2 separate regions of the Homo sapiens genome follow, and region 2 is linked to region 1. The links are contacts of gene promoters, found by promoter capture Hi-C in human tissues and cell types (Jung and others, 2019). All regions are on one chromosome and are shown on one strand. Each heading gives the region's core, a stretch centred on a gene start or on the middle of the fragment in contact. The rest is flanking DNA. Distances are from core to core; before and after follow the strand shown. Region 1 holds the start of PHF21B (PHD finger protein 21B). Region 2 has its middle 43 kb from the start of PHF21B.

Region 1 (4,228 bases), core at 1,373-3,872:
GGGGAGGGGGCGTCCGATCCGGCGGCCCGGGCTGGGGTGGGAGCGCGGGGGCAGGCCCGGGCGGGGGCGCGCGGGGGCGGGCCCGGAGCTGTCCAAGTTTGGCGCTGGCGGCTGCGGCCGGCATTCCGAAGGAAACGCGATCGATGGCCGGGGGCGCGGCGCGGGCGGGGGCGGGGCGCGAAGGAGGGAGGGAGGGGGCAGCGGAGGGAGGGAGGGGCGCCGCCGCCCCCGTGCCCGCCACAGCGGTGCCCCCAGCACGCCATTGGCTGCGCCGCTCAAAGTTCTCGGCTCGGGGCTGCGCGGGGAAGGGGCGGGTGTGCGAGCGCGGGGAAGGGGCGGGTGTGCGAGTGCGGGGAGGGGGCGCGGCGGGGGAGGGGCAGCGGAGGAGGGGCGGGAGCCAGGGGGCGGGGGCGCGCGGCCGGCCGGGCTCTGGCGGCGGCATCTGTTCGTGGTGCTGAAACCCCGAGCGCTGAGCTCAGCGCAACTAAGTCACAATGGACAACTTTTCCTCCCCGGAGGGGGCCCGGAGGGGGGGGAGCGGTCGCGCCTCCGACGCGTGGGAGCTTCTCAGGTGTCCCCAACTACACCTAACGCCCGGAGCCCAAAGTTGGAGCAGAACTGGGGAGTCCCGGGGGCGCGTTTCTTTTGTTCCCCGGGAGCTGGCGTCAGGTTCCAAGAATAAAAAGTGAAGCTAGGGAAGTGGAAGGTGGTGGGGGGGAGGGAGCCTCGAGGAACGATTTCAAAACGAGGTTTGCCACGGAACCCAGAAATCGCTTCCAACGAGTTTGGTGTCCAGGCCCCCACGGCCGCCCCCCTCCGCCCCCATGGCCGCCTCAGCGCAAAGCGGGGGACTCCGAGCCGGGAGAAATCGCCACGTTCCAAAAACATGTCCACCACCTCAAAATGGACGCCGGGCCGCGCGCTGCCTTTTAAGTGAGCTCCTCTCTTCGGCCCCCGCAGGGCCCGGCTCTCCCTGCCGCCTCCGAGAACCCGGCTCTTTCTTTCCAGGAAAGGGGAGGGGTGGGGAACTTTGAGAACTGGAGACAGACCCCTCTGGGAGTCTGAGCGTGCGTCGCCCAGGCTGGCACTTTTTAGGGCGCCGCCAAAGTGCCCAGCCACCCTCCCGCCCCATCCCAGGGGGGGCCGCGATCCCATCGCTTACTTGTTTGTCGCTGAGCGCGGCGATCCGCGGCTGCCTTTCGTGGAGCTGCTTCTTGAGGTCGCCGTTCTGCGGAAACACGGAGGAGCGGGCTCAGGCAGGCCACCCGGGGTCAGGTGCACCCCAGCACCGCGGGCCGCGGCACCCCCCGCCCGGAGCCCCACGGGCGGGGCCGGCCGCAGCGCACCCCAAGTTTCCCGGGCCGCGTCCTGCACGCGCGGCGGCCGGGCAGTGCCGCGCGGGGCCGCTTACCTGTGGCTGCCGCCTCATCGGGGCAGCTCGCGGGGCGGGGCGGGGGCCGAGGCCACCCGGCGGCGCGCCCCGAGCCGTGCAAGTTTGCAGGCCGGGGTGCGTGTGCGAGTGAGTGTGAGTGTGAGTGTGTGCCGGGGGAGGGGGGAGGAACAAAGAGCCAAGTAAACACGGCGAGTCCGTGTCGAGCAAAGCTCATAAATATTCAAGTCGCGTCCTAATCTCCCCAACACACACACGCGCACGCCGAGCCCCGCTCAGGCTCCGGCCGCCACGCCGCCGCTCGCCAGCAGCGATCGCCAAAACTACTTCTGCACACCGGGCAGGTTCGCCCGGGGCGCGGGGGCCCGAGGGGAGGCCGGAAGGGGGCCTATTCGCACTCCCCTCCCCGGGACCGGCTCACGAAGGGGCCCCCTCCAGGCACCCTCCCAGTCATGCAGACCCTACATCGCTTAAGAGAAGACTCCAGGCTCGGGTCCCACGCGTCCTCGATCCCGCAAACTGTGCAGGACAGCGCCAGGGGCAGGCGGAGGGGAGCCCAGAAGGGGGTCCGCGCGTGTGCTCACTCCCTCGCCCCCCGCCCCCGGGCAGGCTCCAGCCTGGAAGACCCAGAGACCCGGAAGAGAGGATGCTGGGCTCGGGTCCCCCGACCCCCTCACCCCGCAACACACTCCCCGGCCCCGGGCCCGGCCCCCGGCCACCTACCTGGTGGCGCGCGAGTTCCACGGCGAGCGCCTCGGGCCGGCTCTGCAGCTCCATCCCGGCAACTTGGGCAGCACTTTGCGCTCACTTTGGCCCGGGCTCCCGGGAAGTTGCGCGGCTCCGCGGGGGCCAGAGCGGGCGCGGGCGGACGCGGCCTCCGGGCTGGGTTGGGGGGGACACGAGCCCCCTCCCCCACGGCCGAAAGGGAAGGGGGCTGGCGAAGGGGAAGACAGGCTTCCGGGCGCCGCGGCGCCGAGCCCTCGGCTGCCCCAACTCCTCAGGCTGCCCGGCAAGTTGCGCCGGGTCCCCGGGCTGCCGGCGCGGCCCGGAGCATGGCCCCCCCGGCGCCGGGAGCCCCGCGCAGCCCCGCGCGCGCCCGCCCAGCCGCCGCCGCCGCCGCCTCCTCCCGCGCGAGCCTCCCGCGGGCAGGGACTATATTTCCTCCGGCGCGCGCGCCTGGATCTCGTTGGGCCTCGGCAAAGTTGTGCCTCGGCACGATGCTAATTCGGCAGTGCCCGGATGGAGCGGGCCGGGGCGGCGGGGGGCGGTGCCGGGACCCTCAGCCCGCCGCGCCCCGCCCCCGCCCCGCCCGCGCCTGCGCACTGCCGCCCCGCCGCGGCCCGGCACCCCGAGCGGAGAACAAAAGTGGCGGTGGACGGGGACGCACGGTCGCCGGCTCCGGGGACTGCTCGGGCCGGGCGCTCGGAGAGGACGACTGCGGAGTCATCCTCTCCGTCCCCGGGCCAACCCGGGGAACGCGGCGCCCCCACCCCCTGCGCCGTGTAACGCCGGGATCAGGACACTTTCCGCTGGGAGGCTGCGAGTCCGTGTTTCCATTTCTCCTCACCCTGGTCCTCGGCTCCCTCCTTTCCCCCCTCCTCCGCCTCCCTCTGATATTTTATTTAAATTCTTCCGTCCCCTCCTGTCCATACCAGCGCCGCGACTTGGGGGATTAAATTAGTCGCGTCGCCACATTCCCCCGCCGCCTGATGGCCTCCGTGTTGTTTAAACAGCAAGAAAATTGATCTCTTGGCTCTTCCTTTAATGATTTTTTTTTACACGATTAAACTCTCAACAGATGTCACTGGACATTTTAAGACTCTTGTTAAGAGTCGTAAACAGGCCCGGTCAATGCGACCTAAAACAATTATAATTACAGCTGCGGAGGTCGCGTTTCAGAACCCCCAGCCGCGCAGCCAGGAGGTTAATGTCCCAGAGTCACTGTCACCACCTCGGGGCTGCCATCTTCATTCAGGTCGGAGTGCCGGGTGCCCTGTTGGCAGCAAACTGGCACGTTTGAAACACGCTGGGGAGAAAGGGTGCAATCATATGTCAAAGTAAACGTTTAAGCTGTTAAGTCGTTTTAACTTCAGATTCCTCTCCGGCAGCACAAAAAATACCCAAGCAAGCACCATCAGCAAATGTCCCTTTCAACATATGCCAACAGGTCACACATTGCTTTTGTTGGCAGAAGTTATTGGAATTCCCCCTTTTCTTTCTTTTCTTTTTTTTTTTTTTTTCAAGTGAGGACCCCAGTGTTGTTCTGCTCTCTGTTAGGGAATTTGTAATAAATTACGTGTTTGGGACCCCCAAACACAGATGGCCCCTCATCCCACAACCCAGCACCTCGCCTTCAGAGCACGACAGAGTGAGACTTAGGATATGAGTAACTATGCAAAAAGCAGAGGGGCATGTAGATGACCCTTACTTTAACCCAAATTAGTTAACAGAAACTTGCAAACAGCGCTTTAAGACTCCATAGGAGGCCGGCCGGGGGCGGTGGCTCACACCTGTAATCCCAGTACTTTGGGAGGCCGAAGTGGGCAGATCACGAGGTCAGGAGTTCGAGACCAGCCTGCCCAACATGGTCTCGACTAAAAATACAAAAAATTAGGCATGGTGGCGCAAGCCTGTAATCCCAGCTACTCGGGAGGCTGAGGCAGGAGAGTTGCTTCAACCCAGGAGGCAGAGGTTGCAGTGAGCCGAGATTGCACCACAGCACTCCAGTCTGGGCAACAGAGCAAGACTCTGTCTCAGAAAAAACAAACAAACAAACAGAAAAGACTCAACAGGAGGAGCCACTACCCTCCGGCCAGCATCTGCCTGAATCTGTGTGGG
Region 2 (4,226 bases), core at 1,600-4,099, 44 kb after region 1:
GGCCAAGCACCCCTATGAGCCCTGACTGAGGCCTCTTCATGGGGCACCTCCCGAGGCTCTGGTCACGCACCACCCACCTCGCTCAGGATCCTACGCCCTCCACTTCTTACCAGGGCGCCCACTCCAGAAGTTCAGTGTAAGTCATTACTCTCCCAATGTAAGGCTTTCAATGCACCCCATAAAGAGGGGCCCAGGTGCTGGCTCTTTCCACCCCTGCTCCCGTCCCACTCCAACCCATCCCTCCTGGCTTTGGCCATCACTGTCCCACCGCAACCTCAGGGCCACCATGTTCGTGGTCCCCATCTGTCCTCAGCAACACTCAACTCCTGGACTGCCCCCTTCTTCCCGTGGCCCCCGGCTCCCACTGTTCCCCACCCTCCTTCCCAGGCTCCATGGCCAGGTGGCCCCTCTGCCCATCCTGAGCCTCTGCTCTCTGGTTGGCCACCCCAGCACGTGACTCACCTGGGCTAAATGCCCTTCAGCCGCATCTCTCCCTGAGTACTGTGCGTGGCCATCAGCTCCTTCTTGTCACCTCTCTGGACTCTCAGTGGGCATCTCAGGTTCAAATAAAAGTCCCCACTCCCTCTCCCCCAAGCAGCCCCTCCCCTGTCCTCTATCTGGTTGTCTACAGCAAAGCCCTGGGCAGCAGTCATGGCTCCCACGTCAGTCCACCCCATTTCTCATGGGACCACCTTCAGATTTCTGAGCACTTGCCCAGCCTCCTTCAACCTCCTCAGGAGGTCACCCTGCACTTCTGCAAGCCAGGCTCTGCCTTTCCTCCTGCAGGAGAGCTCTGTGTGTCCTTTGGCCATCACCTTAGAGCCCGCAGCACATCCAAGCTTATCCACTCACATCTTCTTTCCACCCTTAAGAACAGAAGCGGCACGGAGCAGAGACCAGCCTAGGACCCGAGCCCTGGGCACAGGGCCTGCCGCATCGGGCATGGATGACGGGTGTGGGATTCCACCCCCCGTAAGGCCCGCCCCAGCTCTCTGTCACCTCCCCCAAGACCCAGGCTCTAACTCAGAGATCTCTGAAAATAGGACAATGATTCCTTGTGTTGTGGCCTCTGTTCATTCCACTCTCTGCCTCTAATACTCTTCGGTCTTTCTGTTCTGTTTGGTCAGCTGCGGGTCCCTCTTCAAGCAGCAACTCACAGGTCCATCTCTTCGGGGTGCCCTCCAGGCCTCCCAGGGAGGGGACTGCATTGCTGGGTCCCTTCTCAGGGACCCTCATTCCATCCTCACCACCCTGGCCTCATCCCTCATCTCTCCCTGCTGTGGCAGAACACTTCTGCCTCCCTTCTCTCCGACAGAAGACGAAGCTTCTATACTTGCTTCCAATGGCTTCTTGAAAAGCGGCATGGCCCAGTCCATCAGGCTTGTGAAAGGAAAATAAATCTCGGGGCCCCAGATCACTAAGCTAAAGGGAAAAGTTGAGCTGGGAACTGCTTAGGGTCAACCTGCCTCCCATTCTATTCAAAGTCACCCCTCTGCTCACTGAGATAAATGCATATCTGATTGCCTCCTTTGGAGAGGCTCATCAGAAACTCAAAAGAATGCAACCTTTTGTCTCTTATCTACCTAAGCCCCTCCCTGCTTCCCTCCCACCATTGCATCGAGTTGTCCTGCCTTTCCAGACTGAACCAATGTTCCTCTCACACGTGTTGATTGATGTCTTCTGTCTCCCTAGAATGTATAAAACCAAACTGTCCTCTGACCACCTTGGGCACATGTCTTCAAGACCTCCTGAGGCTGTATTCTTGGCATATAAAGGTGTAAACCAGAAAGTATCTGAGACGGGTCTCAATTAATTTAGAAATTTATTTTGCCAAGATTAAGGACATGCCCCAGAGAGAAGTCTGTGCCTTTCTCCAAAGATGATTTTGAGGGCTTCCATATTTAAAGGGGAAAAGTGAACTGGAGGAGAAAGAGGGAGGGTGTAGTTACTGAATCCACATGTTACAAGGGAAAAGCAGCAGGTAGGGGAGTAGTCAATCATGTATTCGCCTGGCACTCAGTAAATCAGCACTTTACATAAGATAAGGTGAACACTGGATTAGCTACCTGGAGAGATACTTAACCTTTTCTCTGTAGCTCTCTGCTTAGGAACAAAAGGAAAGGTAGCTTCTTGCATGACTCAGCTTGCAGCCTAATTTCTTTCTTTTGGCCAAGTGAATTGGGGTCCTGAGTTTTTATTTTCCTTTCACAAAGGGGAGCTTTAGAAGATCCTTCTCTTGCCCAAAACATAAAAATAAAAAGTTGGCTTTCAAGACTATGTTCTTACTCCAGATCAGGGGCTCTCAGCTGGGATGATTCTGCCTGCCAGGGGGCATTGGGTGGTGTCTGGAGACATTTTTAATCATCTGGACTTGGAGGCCGAGGAGTGGCCCCTCTATCTGAATGTGGGTAGAGGCCAAGGATGCTGCTGATGCCCTACAGGATCTTACCTCAAATGTCCACAGTGTCCAGGCTGAGCAACTCTGCCCTAGGCCTAACAAATCCTACTTTGCATGCAAAAACCAAGCCCCAAGTCTTTTCTCTTGATGTTCCTCCTGAAGCAATGCTAATTGCCCCTGAGGCAAAGGACACCTTGGCTGAATAGAAGGGACTCAAGAAAATGCATGCTTTTAAATACAGCCTTTACAAATGTCACCAAGGAGAGGTCCTTAGCACTGTGGGACTATATTGAGGGCCCCTGACATCATCTGGGTCTCCTCAGGGGAGATTGAGATTTGAAATACAAGGGAAGAGGAGTTCTGAGCAAAAGGACATACAGACCCAGAAGTTGGGCTGTGATATGGTTTGGCTGTGTCCCCACCCGTATCTCATCTTGAATTATAGCTCCCACAGGTCATGGGAGGGACCCAATGGGAGGTAATTAAATCATGGGGGCAGGTTTTCCAATGCTGTTCTCATGATAGTGAATAAGTCTCATGAGATCTGATGGTTTTATAAAGGGCAGTTCCCCTGCACACATTCTCTTGCCTGCCACCATGTAAGATATGCCTTTGCTCCTCCTTTGCCTTCTGCCATGATTGTGAGGCCTCCCCAGCCATGTGGAACTGTGAGTCCAATAAATCTCTTTTTCTTTATAAATTACCCAGTCTCAGGTATTTCATTATAACACGTTTGGGACAGCGGACTGGGAGGGGGTGGGAGGGGCTGGAGGGAAAGGAGCTGCCTGGGTCATCCTAGGAGTGCTGGAAGCTGCTGTAGGCCAGGCATACACACACGACACATCCAGACAGAGAAGGGGGCACAGAGTGAAGCTGGGAGAGGAGAGCCCAGAACAGTAGCTGTCCCACGACTTCCCACACAGAAGCGCTCCGCTAAGGAGCTGGTTCTTTTTTTACATATATAATAAACAATATTAAAGACCAATACATAAATAAGTGGGAGTGAACAGGTTAAAGGTAATTAATATCAAAATTAAGATCTTTCTTTCTTTCTCTCTCTCTTTCTCTTGCTTTTTCCGTTCGTCACACGCAGGCTGGACCGTGGCAAAAAATTAACCAAAAGGTCAACTTCAGTGTGAAGGAAGGAGCATTAGGAGAACAGAGAAAGGAATAAAGAAAAACAGCAGCAAATTACTCTTAGTACTGTGGAAACAAACAGAAATTGGGCTTAGAAAAAAAAAAAAACAGAGGAAGCCGGGCGCGGTGGCTCACGCCTGTAATCCCAGCACTTTGGGAGGCTGAGGCAGGTGGATCATGAGGTCAGGAAATCGAGACCATCCTGGCTAACACGGTGAAACCCCGTCTCTAATAAAAATACAAAAAATTAGCCGGGCGTGGTGGTGGGTGCCTGTAGTCCCAGCTACTCGGGAGGCTGAGGGAGGAGAATGGCGTGAACCCAGGAGGCGGAGCTTGCAGTGAGCCAAGATCGCGCCACTGCACTCCATCCTGGGAGACAGAGTGAGACTCCGTCTCAAAAAAAAAAAAAACAAAACAAACAAAAAAAAAAACAGAGGAAGAAGGTCCAAATAGTCCCAGGTACTCGGGAGTCCGAGATAGGAAGAACATTTGGGCAACACCGGGGAGACTGAGGCTGCAGCGAATCATGATCACATTCCTCTGCTGGACCTGAATGGTCAGGAACATGTTCTTAAGCAGAAAAGAGCCACGATGTCTCTGCATTCCAAATCTAGGGATTCTGATTCAACAAGTCCAGATCACTCTATACACCTGGTTGTGATGACCCAAGACTCTAACCTGGACCCTCATG

What was found. The method cuts DNA at HindIII sites, captures the fragments that hold promoters and counts their contacts. A contact is called where the count stands out against the background at its distance.
Region 2: a contact is called between a fragment that was not itself captured here and the fragment with the promoter of PHF21B in region 1, in 2 of the 25 tissues and cell types used here (IMR-90 fibroblasts and pancreas).

The regions. Positions count from the first base shown.
Region 1 is chr22:45,007,383-45,011,610 of GRCh38, forward strand. PHF21B (PHD finger protein 21B) reads right to left here and starts at 2,623. Exons shown (of 13, transcript NM_138415.5): 1 at 2,114-2,623; 2 at 1,163-1,228. The coding sequence starts at 2,167. RefSeq lists an enhancer at 1,002-1,603. The HindIII fragment of the contact is 18,572 bases long and covers 1-4,228 here.
Region 2 is chr22:45,051,231-45,055,456 of GRCh38, forward strand. No RefSeq gene overlaps it. Among named protein-coding and RNA genes, the nearest start is that of PHF21B, 43 kb to the left of the region's middle. RefSeq lists enhancers at 702-1,505, 1,506-2,310, 2,311-3,114. The HindIII fragment of the contact is 6,724 bases long and covers 1-4,226 here.